Regions from separate parts of the Homo sapiens genome. Here all the other regions are linked to region 2. Evidence: promoter capture Hi-C in 16 types of primary human blood cells and fetal thymus (Javierre and others, 2016). All regions are on one chromosome and are shown on one strand. Each heading gives the region's core, a stretch centred on a gene start or on the middle of the fragment in contact. The rest is flanking DNA. Distances are from core to core; before and after follow the strand shown. Region 1 overlaps SH3PXD2A (SH3 and PX domains 2A). Region 2 holds the start of SLK (STE20 like kinase). Region 3 overlaps ITPRIP (inositol 1,4,5-trisphosphate receptor interacting protein). Region 4 overlaps NEURL1 (neuralized E3 ubiquitin protein ligase 1). Region 5 overlaps GSTO2 (glutathione S-transferase omega 2). Region 6 overlaps ITPRIP (inositol 1,4,5-trisphosphate receptor interacting protein). Region 7 holds the start of CFAP58-DT (CFAP58 divergent transcript).

What was found. Contacts are between HindIII fragments. The CHiCAGO score rates a contact against its expected background, and 5 or more counts as called.
Region 1: a fragment that was not itself captured here is called in contact with the fragment with the promoter of SLK in region 2 in 1 of 17 cell types (M0 macrophages); the score reaches 5.4 in M0 macrophages.
Region 3: a fragment that was not itself captured here is called in contact with the fragment with the promoter of SLK in region 2 in 2 of 17 cell types (activated CD4 T cells and fetal thymus); the score reaches 5.7 in activated CD4 T cells.
Region 4: a contact is called between a fragment that was not itself captured here and the fragment with the promoter of SLK in region 2, in 6 of 17 cell types (naive CD8 T cells, non-activated CD4 T cells, total B cells and 3 more). The highest score is 10.3, in naive CD8 T cells.
Region 5: a contact is called between a fragment that was not itself captured here and the fragment with the promoter of SLK in region 2, in 1 of 17 cell types (fetal thymus). The highest score is 5.4, in fetal thymus.
Region 6: a fragment that was not itself captured here is called in contact with the fragment with the promoter of SLK in region 2 in 2 of 17 cell types (fetal thymus and total B cells); the score reaches 5.6 in fetal thymus.
Region 7: the fragment with the promoter of CFAP58-DT here is called in contact with the fragment with the promoter of SLK in region 2 in 2 of 17 cell types (fetal thymus and neutrophils); the score reaches 6.8 in fetal thymus.

The regions. Positions count from the first base shown.
Region 1 is chr10:103,611,028-103,614,051 of GRCh38, reverse strand. SH3PXD2A (SH3 and PX domains 2A) reads left to right here. Exons shown (of 15, transcript NM_001394015.1): 12 at 862-1,199; 13 at 2,422-2,471. Among named protein-coding and RNA genes, the nearest start is that of NEURL1-AS1, 95 kb to the right of the region's middle. The HindIII fragment of the contact is 3,758 bases long and covers 1-3,024 here.
Region 2 is chr10:103,965,837-103,969,073 of GRCh38, reverse strand. It overlaps SLK (STE20 like kinase), which reads right to left and starts at 1,934. Exons shown (of 19, transcript NM_014720.4): 1 at 1,179-1,934. The coding sequence starts at 1,328. LOC102724351 (a long non-coding RNA gene) reads left to right here and starts at 2,029. Exons shown (of 5, transcript XR_007062282.1): 1 at 2,029-3,237. RefSeq lists silencers at 1,413-1,512, 1,523-1,572, 1,613-2,072. The HindIII fragment of the contact is 5,644 bases long and covers 1-3,237 here.
Region 3 is chr10:104,331,854-104,334,986 of GRCh38, reverse strand. The region is part of intron 1 of ITPRIP (inositol 1,4,5-trisphosphate receptor interacting protein); the gene reads left to right. Among named protein-coding and RNA genes, the nearest start is that of ITPRIP, 5.0 kb to the left of the region's middle. The HindIII fragment of the contact is 5,024 bases long and covers 1-3,133 here.
Region 4 is chr10:103,575,111-103,578,316 of GRCh38, reverse strand. The region is part of intron 3 of NEURL1 (neuralized E3 ubiquitin protein ligase 1); the gene reads right to left. Among named protein-coding and RNA genes, the nearest start is that of NEURL1-AS1, 59 kb to the right of the region's middle. The HindIII fragment of the contact is 799 bases long and covers 1,036-1,834 here.
Region 5 is chr10:104,278,357-104,281,354 of GRCh38, reverse strand. GSTO2 (glutathione S-transferase omega 2) reads right to left here. Exons shown (of 7, transcript NM_183239.2): 5 at 1,884-1,985. Among named protein-coding and RNA genes, the nearest start is that of GSTO2, 11 kb to the right of the region's middle. The HindIII fragment of the contact is 964 bases long and covers 1,103-2,066 here.
Region 6 is chr10:104,310,610-104,313,754 of GRCh38, reverse strand. It overlaps ITPRIP (inositol 1,4,5-trisphosphate receptor interacting protein), which reads left to right. Exons shown (of 2, transcript NM_001272013.2): 2 at 1-3,145. Among named protein-coding and RNA genes, the nearest start is that of ITPRIP-AS1, 11 kb to the left of the region's middle. The HindIII fragment of the contact is 212 bases long and covers 1,721-1,932 here.
Region 7 is chr10:104,351,855-104,354,936 of GRCh38, reverse strand. CFAP58-DT (CFAP58 divergent transcript) reads left to right here and starts at 1,362. Exons shown (of 2, transcript NR_108036.1): 1 at 1,362-1,819; 2 at 3,010-3,082. CFAP58 (cilia and flagella associated protein 58) reads right to left here and starts at 1,104. Exons shown (of 18, transcript NM_001008723.2): 1 at 1,031-1,104. The coding sequence starts at 1,039. RefSeq lists enhancers at 1,375-1,434, 2,712-2,821, 2,842-2,891. The HindIII fragment of the contact is 7,343 bases long and covers 653-3,082 here.

The DNA.
Region 1 (3,024 bases), core at 104-2,603, 350 kb after region 2:
AGGCTGGCCTTAAACGATCCTCCTGCCTCAGCTTCCCAAAGTGCTGTAATGACAGGTGTAAGCCACCTCGCCCAGCCCCAAATCACTTATTGAATAATGCATCTTTGTTCCACTACAGTAAATTTAGCCTGGTTTGTGAACTTGGTCTGTGACAGTCTATAGAGGATCCACCTACTCTCCCTGCAGTGGCACCACAGCTGTCCCATTCAGTCATCTGGCATGGAGGAGCCATTCCAGCTAAGATGTTGGAGACAGCTTAGTTGATCTCAACATGTCTGTCCTTCTGGGTACATTTTTAGCAGCGACTCTATCCCTGCATCTTGCAAAAGAGACACAAACTGAGCTCCAGGGAAGGGACTTGTGCAAGGTACCACAGACTAGAACTCAGACTGCCTGACTCTCACCTTCTGGAGTCAATTCCCTCTCTAATAATACCTCCCCTTCCTACAGGCCATTTACCTCTACATACCACATCCACACCTTCTTCTTATCTCTCTAATTATCCTCAACTGACTGGGAAGTAGCAGGCCATTATGAAGTCCTCCTTTGGGCAACCCAAAAGTTGATAAATCTGATCCCAAGCTCCCACATTTGCCTGACTTTGCAGAACATGAGAGCCCACCCCAAGAGGGATCAGGCAAAGAAAAAGGAGCATGGTGGGGGGGCAGTGGGAATTGGTGTTCTGGGTGTCTTTTCCATCTACCCTCGGTGCCATTTCTCTCCAGAGTAGTGGGATTGCCAAGCCTTGCAGAACATGGTAGGGAAGGCTCCACTGGGCAAGGCCAGATGGATCCTAGGGCCTGGGAGTGGGCTGTGAGGTCAGAGTGCTCTAATGATAGCACATCCTGCTCCTCCCCACAGATACCTGGGCAAAGAGGGCTGGGCGCCAGCATCCTACCTGAAGAAGGCCAAGGATGACCTGCCAACCCGGAAGAAGAACCTGGCCGGCCCAGTGGAGATCATTGGGAACATCATGGAGATCAGCAACCTGCTGAACAAGAAGGCGTCTGGGGACAAGGAAACTCCACCAGCCGAAGGCGAGGGCCATGAGGCCCCCATTGCCAAGAAGGAGATCAGCCTGCCCATCCTCTGCAATGCCTCCAATGGCAGTGCCGTGGGCGTTCCTGACAGGACTGTCTCCAGGCTGGCCCAGGGCTCTCCAGCTGTGGCCAGGATTGCCCCTCAGCGGGCCCAGATCAGTAAGAGCCTCGCTGACCTCTAGGTCCTCACTGCAAAGCTCCTTAGAGAATGGGCATGGGTGCCGTGAAAGCCAGGGGGGTGCACAGGACCCCCATGGCGTTTTCCTCCTGGGCTACAGACTGGCCTTTGACCCTCACTCTGTCAACTTGTGTCATGCTCATCACAGGAGTGGAGAAGGCAGAGGAGTATGATGACTCAACTGCTCCCAGCTGCTCCACGGAAGCTAGATCACATGAGGATGTGGGTGGTAGCGTTCCCTCCTCTAGTGGAGAGCCAGCAATGGTCACTCTGCAGATACACGCGTTCCAAGAGCAAGAAATGTTTTCTTTTCCTTATGGTAAAGGCTTTATAAATCAAGATAGATGATGTGTAGCTGACTTTTAAAAAATCAAAAAAACACATTTCCCTGGGCTGTTGAATGTGGGTGCTATATGCAGGGCTGCCCTATGGAGTGACAGTCTGTAGAGAAACGTCTTTCTGGGCCTTAGCAGCTCCTTCCCTATGACTTTCCACTCGTTACTGGAAACCTAAGAGACTTGGGAGCTAAGGCTTTACCACTCTACACAGGCAGTTTCAACAGGGCGTTCTTCAAGAATCATCTTCATTTCTACAGGAGACTCCAGGCAGTCTGGCACCCTCCATCTCTGGCCCAATAATGCCTTTTGTTGAGGCTTAAAACTTCCATGTTATAGGAACCTAGCTTTTGTTTGTGTCCAGCCATTCTTAAAATCTGGAGGAAAGCTGTTTCTTTAGTTTAGCTCCACTGGGTTAAGTTAGCTCTCGTGCCTGAAATCTTTTAGGGAACCAGCTGGGAAACAGTTATTGGGCACCTCCTCTTGCCTGGCATTATGCTAGCTTCTATGGATTTAATAGTAAGCAAAAAACAGACATGGTCTCTGCTCCTAACTTTGAAAACCTGATAAATCTATACACCCGTTACCCTGAAAAATGCCCACATAGCTGCACATTTTGAAAAGTGCACATAATTTTAGAGTGTTCATAGATCCCCTGGAAGCACAGCCAAGGTAAAGGTCTATAGTTTCCCCTTGAAAAAGCCCAACCACAGTGCCCATAGTGACTTAGAGTGTCAAGTCCTTCATAAAGGCTGAGCTAAAGCATGAACTTGAAGGATCAGGAGTTAGTTTCACCTAGGGAAGGCAGGTATGGGTACTGTTGCCCATCGTCTGACTAGGATTTCTGAAGCCATGTCTCTTCCTCTAGGCTCCCCGAACCTACGGACAAGACCTCCACCACGCAGAGAATCCAGCCTGGTATGTGTACTGAATTTCTTCTCCCCTTTCCTTCCTTTTCTGTGAATGCGCTATAGCCACCCGATCAATTGGCTATCTTGCGGCAGAGCCTCTTGATCCAGGGGTTTTCCAGAGCCCTGCTGGGGCTTCTAGTTTTGTGGGGCTAGGGGCAGGGAGGGAAGCCTGCAGATCCCAGCCTTCCTGGAGGCCTGGCTGGACAGTTTATAATCGGAAACACACTGCACTCCAAAGCTAAATAAATCCATCCCAGCCACTGCATTGGCAGACATAAACATTTAGACTGCCCGGCAAAAGTGTCCAGCCAGGGCATTGCCAGAGGCTGGAAATGGGGCTCCTGTCCATGCTAGCCTGGAAGCCTTTCAGCTTTCCCTGGTCAGGAATGCCCAGTGGAGGTGGTGGATGGCAGAGTCTGGGAGGGCAGAGGGCAGATCAGTGAACGTCTTCCAGGGAGGAGTGTGAGTTGCAAGGAGTGGCTCACGCCCCAGCTTTAAGAGGTTAACACTGCCAGGGTCCCTGGTTCATGTGGGTGGGGTTTCCTGGTGTCCAGACCCTC
Region 2 (3,237 bases), core at 685-3,184:
TCGCTTGAACCCGGGAGGGGGAGGTTGCAGTGAGCCGAGATCGCGCTATTGCACTCCAGCCTGGGCAAAAGGGGCGAAACTCCGTCTCAAAAAAAAAAGAAAGTAGTAGGCAAAATGCTCTCATTTCTACCAGTGACTGTTAAAATAAAAAACAATACTAAATATGGGCTCAGAAGACCTGAGTTCAAGTCTAGGCTGAGACTCATGTGACTGTGAACAATTTCAATATCTTCATCTGTGAAATGTGGATACTAATACTGACCTGCCTACCTCACAAGATTTTTGTGGGGGCCAAATTATTTGAAAGTACTTAAAAACTTCAAAGTCCTGTATAAACATAAGTTATTTTCTTACGTTTTCACTTCTAGGCAACCCTGTGGGTCCTTCCCCTAAACGCTGTCTCATAAAAAATTCGCCCTTCAGGATGAAAATACTCCAATGACATCATTCATATGTTCCTTAGGAGATATTAAATAGTTAACATTAATGCCTTCAGGTTGAAACGCCAAGCCTCTTTCTATTGAAATAAATACATGCGTGTGTGTTTTTAACTGCTTAAGCGCTGATACTGACTTCTAGTCAATGCTTACCATAAATATATTTAAAACTAGTACCACATGAAGGTTTTTTGGAAATTTTGTCAGAAATTCCATTCTATTTTATAGTATGCTGTCAAGCAACTAACTCAAGAAGAGACTGCAAGTAGCAATCACTTTGATCCCAACTAGTTCTGTATTAGCTCTAGATACAACCAAATATATATACTGGACCCTAAAAACAGAACTGTTGGAGTACAAGCATGCACGCGAATGCAGTCAGTAGACAAATCCACTGCAAAGTGCAATGAGTTTCTCATTCTAAAATACTTGAAGGGCACAACCAGACCCCTCCTATAAATTAAAGAACACTCTCATTTCCTTTGAAGTTTGAAAGAGTAGACTTTATAACCCTGTCTCCTTTTCCAATCGCTCTTTAAACTCCATCCAGGCCCCATTTTGTTCCACCGTAAACCCGACTTCTTAGCTACTCCTTGGATGATCAGCCAAGTAAAGTTGCATCGAACCGTAACAGTCAAAAGAAGGACAGGATAAGGACCAGGGGAGCAGAAGTCCTCCCGCCACTCCAGGCCAGTGGCTGTTTTACCTTCGCAGTACAACTTCCCGTTTTCCCCCTCTTACCTTGTACACTTTCCCAAAGGCTCCGTCGCCCAGTTCTCCTATAATCTCCCAAAAGTCTTCGGGGTTCAGGTCCCTCTTCACGTGTTCGTACTGCTTCTTCTTCTTCTCGCTCCCCAACTTGAAGATCTTACGGAAATTGAAGAAGGACATTTTTCCTCCCAACACAGAGTTCCTTGCACTTAAGGACTAAAAACAATAAAAGGCAAAGTTTCTCTTCCCTGCTCTCCCGCGCGAGCCCGGCTGGCGGCGGCGGGCGCGGCGTCCCTCGGCCCCCGCAGCTCCGGCCGGGCGGTCCCGGGAGAAGGCGGGGCGGCGACCCGGGCTCCGGCCCGCGGTGGGGGTGCTGCGCGAGCGGCCCCTCCGCCGAGCCCGGCCCGCGAGCCGCGCGGTGGGCGCCTCGCCTCCGGCCCACCCTCCGGGAGCGGCACCTGCCCGCAAGCTCGCTCCCACCCGGCCTGATCCGACGGGTCCGAGCGGTCAGGACTCCCGCGGCGGCGGCTTAGGCCCGTGTCACGGCGAGTCTCCAGGGGCGGCGGCCACTCTGGGAGAGAGAAGCGGCCGGCGGCCTCGGAGGCGGGCAGTCGAGAAGCCGAGCCCTCCCGCCTCGGGCCGCGAGCCTAGGGTCTCCTCCGCCGCCGTCCGCTCCCGCGGCGCAAGGCCCGCGCGTCCCCTCGGGTCTGGGGCGCCGCCGCCGCCGCCTGTCTCCCTCCCCAGCCCACACAGCCTCGGCCTGGAGCGCGCGCCGACGCCGACTCCGTAGCGCGCCCGCGCGCTTTCCCGGCTGCGCGCCCGCCCGGTCACGCGCCCTGCTCACCGCGCGCTCGCGTGGGGGCGTCCCCTCTGGCCCCGCGCACGCGCGCTACGTCCCTCAGACTGGCTGCCCCCGAGGGTTCGCGTGAGCGGAGCACGGGGCTCGGGGTGCGGGGGGCTGGTGTGATGGACGCATTTGTTCTTCGGTCCCTGACGATTGTTTCTCATTTGCCCTCCAAGCCCCAAATCCTGTCAGTCCACGGCCTTGATGGAGCGGCCCCCGTGGGACGACCCTGTTGATTGTGCTAGCGGATGTTGTCTCCATTCTGGATCTGGGAAAAACTGTGGAGTGAAAGCCGGACCTGTTAGGGTTGGGACCTGAAAGCGGACTTTTTCGCTCTCAGACGGGCCCCAGGTACAGTGAGAGGGGAGTTTGTGTGGTGGTTGTGAGCTTGAGCTTTGGAGAGAGAGATCTGTGACCTTGGGCAGGTGACCTCTCCGAGCCTCGGTTTCCTCGCCGTAAAATGAAGATCCTAATAGTCCCTACCAGAAGGTTGTGAATGAGACAATAGATGGAAGCCCTTTGCGCGGCCCCTGCACCCGTAAACGCTCAATCTTAGTTCTTACTCTTGTTGTTTTAAGTGTGCAGGCAAGATAGACACAGATACATAAAAACTGTTTAAGACCACTTCTCTTTTTTTTCTTTCTTTCTTTTTTTTTTTTTTTTTTTTTTTTTGAGACGGAGTCTCGATCTGTCGCCCAGGCTGGAGTGCAGTGGCGCGAACTAGGCTCACCGCAAGCTCCGCCTCCCGGCTTCACGCTATTCTCCTGCCTCAGCCTCCCGAGTAGCTGGGACTACAGGCGCCCGCCACCACGCCCCGCTAATTTTTTTGTATTTTTAGTAGAGACGGGGTTTCACCGTGTTAGCCAGGATGGTCTCGATCTCCTGACCTCGTGATCCGCCCGCCTCGGCCTCCCAAAGTACTGGCGTGAGCCACCGCGCCGGGCCCCCACTTCTCAACTGATGACTGCGACACTCCCTTGAGGGTAAAACTAACTTCTGGCCACCTCCACAACTGTAAACCTGGTGTCACTCTTGGTGACTCCACCTCAGCTAAGGCCCCCACTTCCTGATCTGCCTCCAGCCCCCTTGGGCAGCACTCCCTGGTGGGGCAGTGTGGACGTTGGCTGGAATCCGTCAGGTGGTGACCTACCTTCCCCTCCTCCACCAGACGGGAGCTCTTTCAGGCCAGTGGTTTGTTGTTCATCAAGATATCCAAGTACCCGGCAACATTCCTGGCATATAATA
Region 3 (3,133 bases), core at 496-2,995, 370 kb before region 2:
CTCAAGCTACTGATTCACCCTGAGAAAGCTCCCAGAAGAGGGTGTACGAATCAGAATGCTGGTTTATTAATTTGCAAGGAGACTTCGCAAACATCACACAGACTGAATGTCGTCTCTTCCCTGCGTCCTAGACAAGCCATATGGGAAACCAAAGACCAGAAGGTGGACTGCGCTTATCAAAGCTGGAGTCAGAACCAGGCAGGAGCAGCATGGGGTGAGGGTGGGGGACAGTGATGTCCAATAGTGCAGGGCTTTGTCTACCTCTGCGGCCCTCTCACCAGCAGAAAGATAGCTGCCAGGTAGACTGGATACTCAGGTCAGCCTGGCTATGGGCATCTCCTTGGCCAGTGCCTCAAGGGCAGTATTTCCCTGAGAAATCCTGGTAGCATTTCTCCCTTTCCTCTCTCATAATGTAGTAATTTTTTATTTTATTTACCTATTTGTTTAGTGCTTTGCAAGCATTAGCTCCCAGAGACATAGATTTGCATTTGCGTAAATTCGATAACTACTGTACAATCTCAGAGTTGTAGGGCCAGGCCATGAGAGTAAGTGCTATATGCAAATCAAGAGGATGATCCGGTAACCTGGATGGATCAATAGAAAGCCAAGCATAGAGCAAAGACACGTGGTCCCCAATCAGCATGGAGGCTGGGCCAAGGCTGGCCAGTTGTTGCATCCCCTGCGTAGGCCAGGGGGTGAAGCATTCCTAAAGCAGTGCCTGCTTCGGCTGCCTCAGGCAGCCTGCCCTGCTCAGCTGGCCTCTTTAGATTTAAAGGGCTCTTTCTGGTCTCTGTCCAGGCCCTTCATGGCTCATCTTTAATGAGCCACATCTCCAGGTGCCCAGAGCCAAGGCGGTGTGACTGCACGGGCTTTGAAGTGGGGCAGACTTGAGTTGAGTCCTGGCTCCACCACTCGGTGGTTGGGCGTTCTCAGTAGTTGGGCAGGTGCCTTGATTCTTCAAGTCTCGGTAACATCATCAGTAAAATGGGGATGACCCTCAGGGCTGTGGGGAGGGTTGACCCAGACGATGCACAGAAGGCTCTGAGCACCGTGCCTGGCGCAGACTGGAAACCTGGCCAGTGTGCGCTCTTCAGGACAGCAGAGGTCGGTTGGAGGTCTGCATTCTCTGCCGACTTGGGCCCCAACTTCCCCATCAGGTCACTGCTCCCTCCTCTGAGGTCTGGACAAAGGACAAGGCTGTAGGGACCTAGACTGTCCTAGACGGGGAGGACATCTATCCTCAGTGGTCTTTCCAGCAGTTTGTTTGGAGCTGCTCATCCTGATCTTTTGGCTGACTCTGGCAGAGGGAAAGTCAGATTTGAGGCCTGAGCTCTAACAGGCATCCAGAGAGGAAGGAAGGGTAAGGAGCTCTTCTGGGCGAGGAAAGGGGTCATTTGGGAGTGCCCCAGAGGCCTGTAGACCCCTCCTCAACAGTTTAGGACCTGTGACGTTTCCCCACAGAGAGCACATCCCCCCTCTATCTGTTAGGCCCACCCCGTGACATCAGTGAAACGGAAGCACCCTGCAGGTGACATCACTGTTGCTCAGGGCAACGCCTCCACCCTAAGGCGGACGGGGAGGTGAAAAATCGGCCTCAAGTGTGAGACGCATGTTGAAGGGAAGGGACATAGAAGGTGTAACGTTCACAGGTGTGTTTCTCAGAGGCTGGGGAGAGGATGGGCCCAGTTAGCGGCAGGGTGAATAGAAGAGGGAGGTGCTGCAGTCTCAGATCTGGGCTGTGTCAGTTGGTGGTGGGTCTTTAGGCCTTGGGTCAGAGAGCGCAGTGCTGACAGCTGCAGTCTCCTTCAGTTCTCTGAACGGGACTCCTTAGGGGTCCTCCTGCAGCCTGGATCTGTAAGGAGGGTTAGGGGAAGGGCAGGCTGGAGCAGTGATGGGGCCATCAGAAAAGTGACTTTCCATTCTTCAGCCTCCCCACAAAAGAGAGTGAGAAATAGGATGCTCACATCCTTATTACGGGGGCTTCATTGATCGAGCAGCCATTGTGTATCTGTTATGCATGGCCTGTGCCAGGGATTCAGCGGCCTCGTGGAGCGTTATGATGAAATGCACATGGAGAGGAAGAGTGTATGGAATCCACTGCCCCAAGAGGCAGGACCAACTGGAGATAGGAATCCCGTCTCACAGTTCACCTCACTCAACTTAGCATTCCCTGTGGAATTCTAGATGGGTTAAACTAAATTCATGGAATGCTTTCAGTTGGGTGTGCTTGAGATACACTTGCTAATTTGGGAGTGGAGTCAGAGGGGGCAGCCATGGATGTCCATCTTGTCCCTGGGATGGCACTGTTTACAAGGCTGAGGTCACTCAGCAGTTCTGATGCTCTTAACTTGGTGACCTGTGTTTCCGCCACATCTTATCAGGTGATGCCTGCTGCTTCTCCTAAGCAAGGGCTGCCAAATGTCAGCACAGGAGACGAAAGAGGCAGGAAAGGGAGGACTCCCTGCCCTGAAGAAAGATGAAAAACTAGATGATATAGTAGGTGTCTCTGTAGAGGTTTCAGGAATCGCCTTGTCCTTCCACTTGAAGGCACCTGATTAAAGTTTTTGTTTTGTGCAACTAGGCATAACTTCAGGTGCTTTTCTGATGTCCAGCATTTCGGTGGCTAAAGTCATTGCCCTAATTCTTGTATGCACCTAGCTTTTTCAGGTTTATAAATAAAAATTAGAGTATCATTAATCTGCAGAATCCACCGTTATGGATATGACATTGTTCATATAAGTAGAATGGCCTTATTAAAAAAAAATAGTGGCTTCATTTACTGAGCAAAGCCCCATTCTAGGGGTTTACACATATTTATTTCTCCTCCTCACAATGGCCCTTCAAGGTGGGTGTTATCCTAGTTTTACAGGTGAAAGAACAGACTCAGAGGGACTTGCCCCAAACGGACAACAACAGAGAAGAGATTCGAATTTAGATTTGCTCTCTCCCAGGGCCTTGGACTCTTTCTGCCACCTCAGGCGTCTGTCTGGACACTGTAGCCCAGAACACATACAGATGGCATAAAGAATCCCACAAAGTTTTAAGTGTCAATACTGAGAAAACAGCAAGCAGACCACCAACTCCAGGCCTGAGACTTCTGGTCCCTTCCTGCTGTCTCACTCTGATATTAGCA
Region 4 (3,206 bases), core at 186-2,685, 390 kb after region 2:
GGGTTGGCTTTTTTGGCCGTGGAGGGCGGTGTCTTTAAATTAGGTATTCCTTTTTAACCTAAAGACAAAAGCCCTTCTCATTTGTGTAAATGCCTTTCCACATCTGTGAGGTAAGTGGGGTGTGTATAATTATGCCCAAATAATGAGGAGGCTGAAGCACAGAGAAGCTGAGAACTGCCCAGAGCTAATGAGTGGCCAAGTCAAGCCTTGATTCAGTGGGTCTCCTGCATCTTAAATGAAGGCATTGTCCCCAATACTGCAAGGCCCGAGCTCCTCCCTCCACATACACCCCACCCTGAGCCCCACCACTCTCTCCAAGGCCCCAGTACAATCTCTTGGGCCCAAGAGATGCTAGGGGCAAACATGAGATTGCCTTTCTTGTAAGTTAAAAACAGTCCAATACTGGTGATTACATATGGTTCAACTTGATATATATTCATTGTGGTAGAAAACTAGAGTGCACAGGAATAACTGAACCAGACAAAGCCCTCGGGAGCCTCCGGGGAACTATAAGGCAGGCAGACCGACCTTCCCCACTGAATCTGGCATCCTGGGCGCTGCACTGCCCCTCTTCCTTGTACCAGCACTGCTGGGGCCCTGGTGGCCTATCTGTGCCCAACATGTGCAGTTGATCCTTGATGCCTTGAGCTCTTGTAAGCTCGACTCTGGAAGGCACAGGAGGGCCACTGTCCCCGCTCTTGTCGGGTATCCAGACCTAATAGGGAGATCAGATGGACTCACATCTAGAGAAGCTGGAAGGTAATGTAGCCCAAGCTCCTGGGTTCAAATCCCAGCTCCACCAACTGCCAGCTGTGTGACCTTGGGCAGGTTATCAGACCTCTCTCAGCCTCTGTTCCTTATCTACAAAATGGGCACAATAATACCTTCCTTTATATACAAAGAGGATATATGCTGGATCTTTAAAGAGCAGGACAATACATGACTCAAAGCTGCTTATACCACTTAGGTCTCCAAGTGCTTCCGATGGTCAGGAGGAGGAAGGGTCATTTTGAATGAGGGAGGTCTGGGAAAGCTTCCTAATGGAGGGGAGGGTTTGGTGTGGGGCACTGATATAGCTGGCAGAATTTGGGGTAAGCAGAAAGGAAGCACCAGAAAACCCTCTGAAGCAGAAGGAAAAGCAAGATTTTTTTCTTAATCAAAAAGAAATGAAAATCATCAAAGAGGAAGAAATCATGATCGGCAGCCTCAGCTGTTTCCCCCAGCCCAACAGCTGGCTCAGGCTCCTTAAACTAATATTTGCCTCTTGGCCCCTAGCAGCCACAGCTGAGGGTAAATATTGGTTTAGCCTGGGAAGCAGAAGGCCCAGATGGCAGTGTGGTCCTCGGCTGGGGATCACTCATGCTCAGCACCTCCAAGCTGAGGCACACCCTGGATAGGGGACCTGACCTAGGCCCCTATCTCCAGGGGGCCTGGAGAACCCACCCAGCAGCACATGACCCTTGGAAGCCCATCCTGAGAGTCTCCATACAGCTCTCTCCTCAGTAGGCAGGCGTGGGTCTTTTACCAAGACCTGGGAACCTGTGCATGGCAAGGGATGGAATAGAATGCATAAGCCCTCGGGAGCCCCCACCTCATCCCCTCCTAGAACCCTCCCGGACCCAGCCCCACCATTTAGATGTGTTGATAGCCTCCTCCCTCTGACCTTACTCCCAGATCAGCCTGAGAGATCTGGGTTCCAGGCCTGGCCTGGCTGATGAGCAGCTGGGAGAGTTTGGGCAGGCCTCTCCCCATCTCTGGGTCTCATACTTCTCCACTGTCAACCAGCCAGTCCCTCTTACTGAACAACTTGACAGCACAAAAGCTGCTGGAAGCTTTCAGCTCTCATGGCTCTCTCCCCTGTGATGCATACACATACCCACACCTGTGCACACCCCTCACCTCCACAAGTCACCCACTACCTTTCTACCTCATTCCTTCCCCTCCTGGATCTGCTCCCCTACTGACCGCCAATTCCCCACCTCTGCACCTGTGGACACCCCCCTGTCTGACCTAAATTGTTCCTCAACCAATCCATTCTTTTCACCTCACTTAGTTCCTGACTTAAAACTTGTCTCCTACAGGAAGTCCTCCTGGATTGCTCTCTAGCTGCACTCCCCTCCCACACATACACACAGTTTTACTCTTCAGGTCACACTTGATTGCAGAATTGAACTTGGGCCACCTTGCATCAGTTATATGATGTGTCCCCCAGGGAAAACATTATTCCAGGAGAGGGGCTGGGTTTTTGATTCTTCTGTCTCCCACCTGCCCCCGCTTAGTGCCTAGGCAGTGGTAGGCACCAAGGGATGCTCTGGAGCACCCTGTAAGTGGGCTCTTGGCCCGCCAGCCAAGTCCTGCTGGGACTCACAGCTGCTCTTCCTGAATTGACATTTCTGAGAGGAGCAAGGAGACCTTGAGATACTGGGATAGGAGCTTCTTTTTCCATGTATTAATCACCCCATAAAACCTGTGTTTATTTAGTTGCTGGCGGGTCCTTCTCCCTGGAGGAAGGAAGCTGTTATTCTTGACGATACCAGCCTGGGCTTGGGCCAGGGCGCCCCAAAGAAAGAGGTGATCTGCAGAACTCCAGCATAACAGGGAGGAGGGCCTGCTGGGGCTGTGGCATGGGCACCATAACAGGGAGGAGGGCCTGCTGGGGCCATGGCATGGGCACCATTGTGGGCTTGGATTCTGGCCAGGGCAGGGAGGACCGTCCACTGGGGAGAGACACCAGCCCCTGCCTCCACTCTGTCTGGGGACACAACCCATCCATGGCCTGACCTGCTTACCTACTATGTGCCAGCTACCCTGGGAAGCCTCTGGTCTAAGGAACAAACACAGAGCAGGTAAGATTGGGAGGGCTTTGACCACAGGCTTCAGACAAAGGGGGCAGGGGCAGGCCTGGCAGAAAATCCCCAAAGATCAGACATTGGTTTGGGGGACAGTCACCCCAGGAAAGACTGGCCCAGCCTCAGAGCCACCAAGATGGACAGCGACTTTCTTCAGAAGAGAGACAGCAGCGGGGAGAAGGACACCAAGACCAGGGAAAGCAAGAAGGGTGAGAGGATCTAGGTCAAGGGAGAGAGAAAAGCCCAGAAAGATACAGGTGCAGTAAAGGTGCAGGTGATGGAGAGAGGGAGGGGCGGGAAGTGGGGCGGAGAGGAAAGAGAAGGCAGGGAAGGAAGCTGATCCTGAGGCTACCTGGG
Region 5 (2,998 bases), core at 335-2,834, 310 kb before region 2:
GGCATGATGGGGTCCATTCAGCTGATCTTTAAAATAGACTATAAATTCTCTATTCACAAGATTTTCGAACTTCTTTTTTAAAGCAGCAGCTCTCCTCTCTCCCCAAATGCCATCTTCTTAGATGTCAGGTTGAACATGGTGGTTGAAGGCAGTGCTGACCTAAGTAAAGCAGTGTCTAGAACAATCTACCAGGCCTCCACTCACTGGGCAGTCCCCTGCAGAACCCAGAGGCTCTGAGGAACACACATTTCAAAATAATCCCTCATTTTACACATGGGAAAACCAAGGCCCAGAGAGGTACAGAACATTGCCCAAGGTTCTGGAATTCAGTAAAGCCAAGCCTAAGATCCAAGATTCTTTCCACCACATCATATGGCCTCCTTGGAGTCAAGGCCACAGTTGGTGACCTCAGGACAAAAGGTTGACATTTCCTACACATGACCATTCGTCATCCATAAATACTTAATCGTACAAATTTGAGATAGGCAACTGGAAATATCAATACATTTAATCTGTTTCCACTTGATAAAGGTCAAATGGAAGAGTATTAATAACCAGTCTTCCCTTAAGGGGAAAAAAATTGTATTCTCTGGCTGCCAATAGAGGAACCACCCACCCATAAGGTGAATTTGTCAGTTTCTGGAGCAAAAATAAAGGAAGTAAAAGAACTGCCTTCCTGATTATTCTAGAAGTACAGGATAAGTAGCTCCATTACTGCCAGGTTAATGAAGCATCTACTGGCAAAGAGTATTCCTGCCACCGCACCCATTTCCCCCTTCTTCCTTAATTACAGACCTCTGATTTTATTCAGGGTATCCCAGCTAAAAGACTGTATTTCCCAGCTTTCTCTAAGATAGTTATGACCCCACAACTAAGTTCTGGCCAACGAAATGTAAATAGCCATTGAGTAGAATTTCTGGTAGGATTTAAAGCCCTTTAAAGGGGTATGACCATTTGCCATTTTTTTCTTTATATTCTCCTTTTCAGAGCCTGGAACTTGGATGTGATGGCTGCAGTGACAGCAGCTATCTTGTTATTTTGAGGATGATACCCTTGTACTAAGTTGTGCTAAGGATGACAGAGCCCATAAAGAGAAAAAGCTTCAGTTCCTGATAATGTCATGAAGAAGCCATCAAGATAGGCCTGAACTGCCTACCTCTGGCTTTTTTTTTTTTTTTTTTTTTTTTTTGTCAGTCCTACTTACTCTGTCACCCAGGCTAGAGTGCAGTGGTGCAATCATGGCTCACTGCAGCTTTGACCTCCCAGACTCAAGCAATCCTCCTGCCTCAGCCTCCTAAGTAGCTGGGACTACAGGTATACATCGTTATGCCTGGCTAATTTTTAAAATTATTTTTGTAGAGGAGGGGTCTTGCTATGTTGCCTAGGCTGGTCTTAAACTTCTAGGCTCAAGTGATCCTCCTGCTTCAGCCTCCCCAAGTGCTGGGATCACAGGTGTGAGCCACCGTATGTGTGAGAATAAACCCTTATAATACGTGAGAAAGAATGTTATGTGAGAGAGTAAACCCTTACAACATGAATTTACAGTAGTTAGACTTCAGCAGCCAAACACAACCCCTAACCTTTACAGACCTTGACCTCATTGGCAGAAGCTACAGAAGCCATGCAGAGCTACTCAGGGAGATGGGGTGACTCTGGGAAAGGAAGCAATTCATGGCATGTCCTCCCCAACTCCTCATCAGATTTTCCAGAATAATTCTAGACCAGGTTAGAGGAGGGCAAACATGCAATCAGATGATCAGAAGTCTGACTTATCAAAGGCAGAAAGAATAAGCCTGTGAAAGCTGGTGTTAGAGTGACCAGGTTAGCGACCCTGCCTAGCTTCCTCCACTGTAGCTGACCAGGAGAGGGACCCCTTTTTGTACCTCTTCCAGGTTGCTGAATTCCTGACGCAGGGCTGCCTTCAGATTAGTGCATTCTCTCCCACATCTCAACGCTACCAGGCACTCCTTGGTCAAATGTGGGACCTAATCAGAGGACACAGGTTCTCAGTGGAGAAGTCTGTGGAAACTTCCAGTTCCTGTTCTGCCTGAAAAGGCAGCGAAGCTTTATAACTCCAGCCTAACAGGGCAACACCCACATCAGACCCCCCAGCTCCCTGTGAGAGGCACTAGGTTTTCTCTGTGGTTCCGGTTCTCAGTAGGAATCTACTTCTTATAGTACCCTGGGAAAGCAGGGTGCTTTAGGAGGGTTTCTCCAGTGCTCCTTACTTGATCAGCTGCTTCCATGCTATACATTCTTAGGTGGGACACTCAACCTCTCTAAGCCTCAGTGTTCTCATCTGAAAAATGGATACGATAGCAGTACCCACTTCAAAGGGCAGTTGGATTAAATGAGTTAGCTCCTACAAAGTAACTAGGACAGTGCCTGGCACATCATAAGTGTTCGATATATGTCAGCTGTTAATATCATTGAGGTTTTTAAAAATTCCTTTTCAAAGACACCATCTTAAAATTTCTCCATTCTTTTTTCTTTCATTATCAAAGCTGCCACCATTTATCTATTCTTCACATTTCCTGGACAGCAGGCACTCTTATGCTTCTAAAGAGCATCACTGGCCAGGCACAGTGGCTCACGTCTGTAATCCTAGCACTTTGGGAGGCCGAGGCAGGCAGATCACTTGAGGTCAGGAGTTCAAGACCAGCCTGGCCAATATGGTGAAACCCCATCTCTACTAAAAATACAACAATTAGGGGGTGTGGTGGCATGCGCCTGTAATCCCAGCTACTCAGGAGGCTGAGGCAGGAAAATTGCTTAAACCCAGGTGGCAGAGGTTGCAGTGAGCCGAGATGGTGCCACTGCACTCCAGCCTGGGTGACAGAGCGAGACTCCGTCTCAAAAAAAAAATAATAAAAAAGCATCACCTTCTATGCATAATCTTCGCACTCCATTACTTTTTACCTGAAGCTGGAGAAATACTCCCTTTAAGGATCACCAGTTTTCAGTTCTTTCAGTATTCCTGCTTCAAGTTACACGGTCA
Region 6 (3,145 bases), core at 577-3,076, 340 kb before region 2:
AATTAGCCACTTTTTCAGCTACACTTCTCACTCAGCTGCACCCTACACTTCTCACTCAGGTGCACCCCCTTCTGCTGTCCTTTCCCCAACGTACTGGGTCCCGAGCGTGGTGGGTATTTGCCACACTGGGTGCCAGCTCAGCAGCCCCCCACCTCTCTTTATTCTCTCCAAAGCTGGTCTTTCTGACTATCATTGTGGTAGGGGGAGGACAGATGCTAAAGGTGGAAGCTGACCTGGAGAAAGAGACACACGGGGTGACTGTGGCAAAGGACAGCTGGAAAAGAAACTCTATCACTTCTTCATTGGCAACCACAAGGCACCTGAGGCCATGGCACTCCCAGAGGCTGTGCGCAGAGCCAAGCCTCTCAACCTCTTCTGGCCCTGCGTCCTGCAGCGAAGTCTCTGCTGTAAGACAGTAGACTCCTTCGATGAGGTGCTCAAAAATGCTACCCGGGGTGGTGGTGTCTGGCTTGCAGTCTGGCCCAGTTCAGAGAAAGTTGCAGAGATCAGGGGCCAAGGATGTCATAGCCCCAGGTTGTCCTCAGGGTCCCAATCCTAGGGCAGGGTGTGCATGGAAGCAAGAACTATGGAAACCTAGCTCCAGTCTGCAGGCTCTGAGCCCCTAGTTCCTCACTCCAGCGGGGCTCCCTCACTGCACAGAACCCACCCCTTCTGTGTGGGCACTGCTGACCACACAGATGACCCAGACCCAAAGAGCCTGGCAGAAGCTCTGTGGTTGGAGCTGGGCTCCGTCTCCAGGTCTGGTTCAGGGGGATCAGGAAGGCTCTTTTCCACCTGTGGCTTCACTGGCCCTTTGAGATTTCCTATCTCACCGTTACTTCAGTTACCCTTGCAGGGGGCCAGGGAGTCAAGAATATACCGTGTTCCTCCAGGGTTTAAGCCGGCCATGCCTTCCCGAGAGCATAACCAACTTGACAGGGGTGCCCAGTTACCCCACAAACTGAAGGAAGGAGATCCTTCCCCCATCCCCAGGAGTGCTCTCAACCAGCCTCAGAAAGCTTGAGAAGATGGACCCTTTGCCCACCAGGGTTAATTCCTGGTGGGGCAGCTCGGCTGTGATCAGGGCAACCAAACCTATAGGAAGCCTTCCAGTGTGAGCTGGAATTAGACTGAACATGTGCTTGGGCCTGCCTCTCCCTAGACGCAGTTGCGGGGCACTCCAGGGAATGAACCAGCTCAAGTGTGTCCCTAACAGCAGCCTGGAGCTACCCCCAATCCCTCACAGCCTGACCCTCCTCATTCCATCAGATGCATTTGTAGAATCGGGGCAAATTTCCTTATTTATTTATGGCCCATGCCTTTCCCCCTCTTCATCCTGATCCCGTTTTGCTTTGAAGAGACCCCAGTAACCAAAAAACAGCCTCCAGAAGCCAAAACCATGCCTGGATCTCCCATAGCTTCTCCTTTGCTTCCAGGAGAAAGTTCACTGAAAAAAAAATATCTTCTGGCTTCTTGTGTGTACAGAGACAACAGAACTCGGTGGGGAAACGGGAATCTTTTCTGCACCAAAGCTGCTTCTAAAGCAGAAAGCAGTGGGGCTCTTGGTGTTTCATGCTGCCTTATTTATATTAAAGGAAGAATTAAATCTTGCAAGGAGTAGAAATGGTCACTGTTTGTTTTTAACTTCAGGAAATCTGTGAGGCTCCCAGGGCAGAGTTGGGGACAGGGGGGTGGATTTCCTATTGACAAAGCAGAAGCTTTCACTCCCTTTTTATTCTTACACTTTCAGGAGACTTTAAAAAATAACAAAACAGAACATTTCTACCCTGTCTTTGAGGCAACTTGTGTGCTGCCCGCAGGGCTCCAGAAAGGGCCTTTGAAAGCTGGCTGTAGGGTGGATTCCAGCCTAAGACCTTATTTCACAGAGCTAATGTCAGCGAGAAATATAGGAGCTGGAACTAACAGGAAGCTTTTGGGTTTTAAAGAAAGAGATTGTATTTTAAATAGAGGATTTTGAGTCCTCTAGGGGACTTTGGCCTTTCCACTAAGGACAACCCTGCCCTCTTTCCCCAGAGTCTCTTTCCCAAGGATGCTTGACTTTCCCCAGCAACTGCTCACTTGCTTTGCAAAATAACAAGGGTGAAATGAATAGAGTTGGCCCCTAGGCCAAGAGGCTGGTTATGTTGGGGAAGGGCCTTATATCCTCAAAAGCTCTAGCCCCTCTGCATGCCTGGCTGAAGCACAGCCCCCGTTGAGAACCTGGGGGTGGAGCTCTGGTTCATCATCAAGGGTGTCATCCGAATCACCCAGACAACCTGGTCCATTGCCCCGACCCCGCCTTGAACCTACATGGTGCTCAGAATCCAGTCTGGAGTGGTCAGGCTAGGCTCGATTTTTAAAGATTTCCCCCAAGTGACTGATGGTACCCCTAGCTGAGGAAGCCCTCTCACTTTCTTTCTTAATGGAAAGTTAAAGAAAACCCAAGTGGACTACTTTCCCTACAGATCTATTGGAAGATAGATAGACCTGGGAAAAGCCAATGAGCCTGCTTGGAATCTGTGGTCTAAGTGGCATCAGCTACACCACAAGCTTCTCATGAGGGCACCCACATTCACGCTAGTGCCGTAAGCCTCAGAGAGAGGGTGGGAAGGCATAAGATGGTGAGCCCTTCTCCCAAGCAGGTCATGAATAGTCCACAAGCATTTGTCAGGAGCCTAACGTGCATGAGACATTGTGGAAGATGGGAAAATGAATAGGACCAAGCCTGTTCCCTAGGAGAGGCAGCAGAAGGTGGCCTTCCAAGTACTGAGCTATTCCAAGTGTGACCCTGCACTACACATACGGGTGTCACCTGGGGGCAGCTTCCTGGGCCGTGTCACAGACTCCAGTGGGATCCTGAGAAGTTAGGTAGAAGAATCTGCACTTCACCAAGTTCCCCACCTGATTCTGGATGTCCAAGAACCACTGGTACCTGGGCTGATTAGGGAAGGCCTCATGGTGGGGCGCTGCCAGATAGAGACTCTGAAAAATGACCAGGACTGTGGCCAGGAAAGACATTCCAGCCAGAAGCATGGAGTGAGGGTGGGAAGCACCTACTGTATGGCAGGCACCGTTCCGCACACACATTTGTTAATGCACACAGTTCCATGTCAGTCCTATGATGTAGGTGCTATTCTTATCCTCC
Region 7 (3,082 bases), core at 113-2,612, 390 kb before region 2:
AGGAAGCAAGAGAGTAACTAGAATGGGGTGGGGAGGGGGTGGAGCACGATGGTGCTGAAAGATGATGGGGCTTGGGCTGGCTTCATGGGAGTGAAAACTGGTCAGTTGCACAGGGCCCCTTGCTCAGAAAGGCCCCATTCTTGGTTGAATGCTCTGCTGTTCTGTCTTAAAATTATTTGTAATTTTTGAAGAGACTTTGTGTTTTCACTTTGCATCAGGCCTTGCAAATCATGTAGCTGGTCCTGGCTGGAACAGACCGTGGGATGGGTGATGGGGGAAGGGCTCTGATGGGGCCATGAAGGATTTGGGTAGGGCCATAGTGGATGGGGACTGTGAATGGCAAGTAATGACAGGGACCCGAGGCTCTTGAGGTTATACGTGAGGGGGCTAAGGGGCAGGCAGGGAGTCACTGAAGGGTTGCAGAAATAACCCCTCATTGGAGAGGCTGAAAATGGGGTGTACTGTAATATGGGGGAGTGGTGGGGTGATACGAGATGTTAACACAGGAGTCAATGAACACACGGGGCAGAGGTGATGGGCAGAAGAGCCTTAATGAAGCTGTGTGACAGCAGGTGATCACATGTTAGGAAATCAGGGTGTGACAGGTGGACAAGGGCCATTGATTGGGATGACAGCAGGCATCTGTGAAGCTTTCTTCCCGGTTTCCCCTGTGAGATAAGACATCTCCAATATTTCTGTGTGAGCCTCTCTTATGGTATCACTCCATGACTAAAAATCTAGGGCTGGGTGCATGTCACGTGTGGATTTCAGAATTCATTAATTTTCTACCGCACTTAGCATAGCGCCGATGCCACAGTGGGGATAGTGGGGTGTCCACACAAATGAAGGAGAAACAGGAGGTAAAGAGGCCAGAGCCAACGGAGAAAGGCGCGGGAGTGAGTGAGGGTGCAGGGGAATAAGATGTTGATGGGGGGAAATATTGGAATCACCGTTTGTGACAATCGTCAGTAGGAGAGGGACAATGGGGAGGGGTCAAGGGAAAGGCGACAGAGGGGCGCTGACTCCTGACCTCAGCCATCCTGATGCTCTCTGGGGGCGGCCTCAGAGGCTGCTGTGGAGATCGCAGGAGCTGGGCCGGAGTCTGGGAAAGAAGCTAAAGGCGCGACGCGCTGTCTCTATCGCCCGCCCCGAGCGGAAACCCGCGCTCGGCGCGTCGGCCCGTCGCCTGGCAACGGACACGCCCTCTAGGGGCGCTAGCGGGAATTCGAAAGGGGAGGAGCTTCTGCGGCTGGCACCTGGGCAGGGTTCCTCAGAGAAATATGCAAATATATCCCAATGGGGCGGAGCCAAGGAAGTGAGGGGGCGGTGCCCCTGAGAGGCTGGGAGGAGTCCCACGGTGTGGGCAGATGGAGACACCCAGGAGAAAGAAGAGGGCGAATTGGAAGAGGCCACCCAGAAAGGACGGTGTGTGACACTAGGGAGCCAAGCATGGAGAGCCGAGGACTAACGCTTGGAAGGAAATGTGGACCAGAAGGTTCCGGATGAGGGAAGGACTGGCGGCTACACTCTGCCTTCCGAGACAACGAGGAATAATCTCACTTCAGTCAGTTCAACCCTTGTAAAACAGCTACTGTGTGCAAGACACGGAGGGAAAGCTGAAGTAGAGAAACCACAGACGCTGTCTTCAAAGGGTTTAATCTAATATTAGTGATGAGAAAAATAGGGTGCAGAGCTTAAGGCATCCTGGAAAAACGTATGTAGCGCCACATCGCGAAAATCTCTCTTCTGGGACCCCTCTCCCAAAAACGTTTCTTCGCCCTCTTCTCCCCCTTCTGCCTCCACTCTTTCTGGACTTCAGGTACAAATAGTTGAAATAATTATACTCCTTGGTTCATGAAATGTGTAAGACTCCTCTCTGGTTTTATTTTCCCCCTTTATCCCCATCCCTACTCCCAACCCCTATCCTCAACCCCATAGGCATTCATGCTGCTGTGCTTCCATATGTATTTTTGGGAAATGTACAAAATTTTTATCAGTGTATTTTTTAAAAATGTTTAAATAATGCTACTGGACTTTGGAGATTATCTTATTTTCTACTTTTTTCACTCAACATTCTTTTTAAGGATCTGTCCTCGTTGCGATTGGCAAGCATATAGTTCATTGCTTCTGAGTACTGCACAGCGTTTCATAAGGGGCATCTACCACACTTCACTTCCATTCCCCAGGTGTTAGGTAACAAGGCCGCCTCTAATTCTCCAATACATCAAGTAATACAGCCATGATCGTCTTTGTCCGTGGTCCCTTAAGGACCTCTGTGCAAATTCCTCTGAAATATATGCCAAGGAGTAAGATTGTTAAAGTTATAGGGATGCACAGGGACATTTGCTTATGCAGCTGCGTCCTGCACAAACACATCCAGCCATGGGGCAATGGAGGCTGAAAAACTGTCTCTACTCTCTTTCCCGTGCCATGTGCCCTACTGGAGAAAGGTGTGCACTTTTTATTCTCACAAAATCTCTGTACGCCAGCCAAGTCATGAACCTAGAAGGCTGTAACTATCTAGAGGGTGTGATATTTTCAAACTCATCTGGCCAGATGAACAGTTTTCCAAGAGCACAACGATGCCCAGTAGCCTAGTACAAGCCCTGGGTACTTACCAAGCACTTTAAGATTGTGTACCAGAGTTACTGCCCTACGCTGCACTCCAGTGTGGGGTTTCCATCCAACACTTCCATCCATCCCTTCCAGAAGGTGATAGGTCTTTTTTATTAAACACTCATAAAGTGTTTAGTAAATACCAGATACTATTCTAAGTGCTTTGCAAATATTGACTCATCTAATTAGCTAATTTTCTAATTTCTGTCAATATGATGAAAGTAGTGTAAGCTCATTTTTTGCTTTCATTTTCACTTCTCTAACTACTAGTGAATTTTTTGACCATTTCTTTATACATTCATAGGCTACTTGAGATTCCCTTCTGTGAACTGCCTTTTCAGTGTCTGTGTCTATTTTTCTATTGATCTTTTTTCTTTTTCTTTTGATTTACAGATATCTTTGAGAAGCCTGGACATCAATCTGCTTTAGAAGACTAGAAACTCTGCCTTTATGTCTTTAAGGGAAC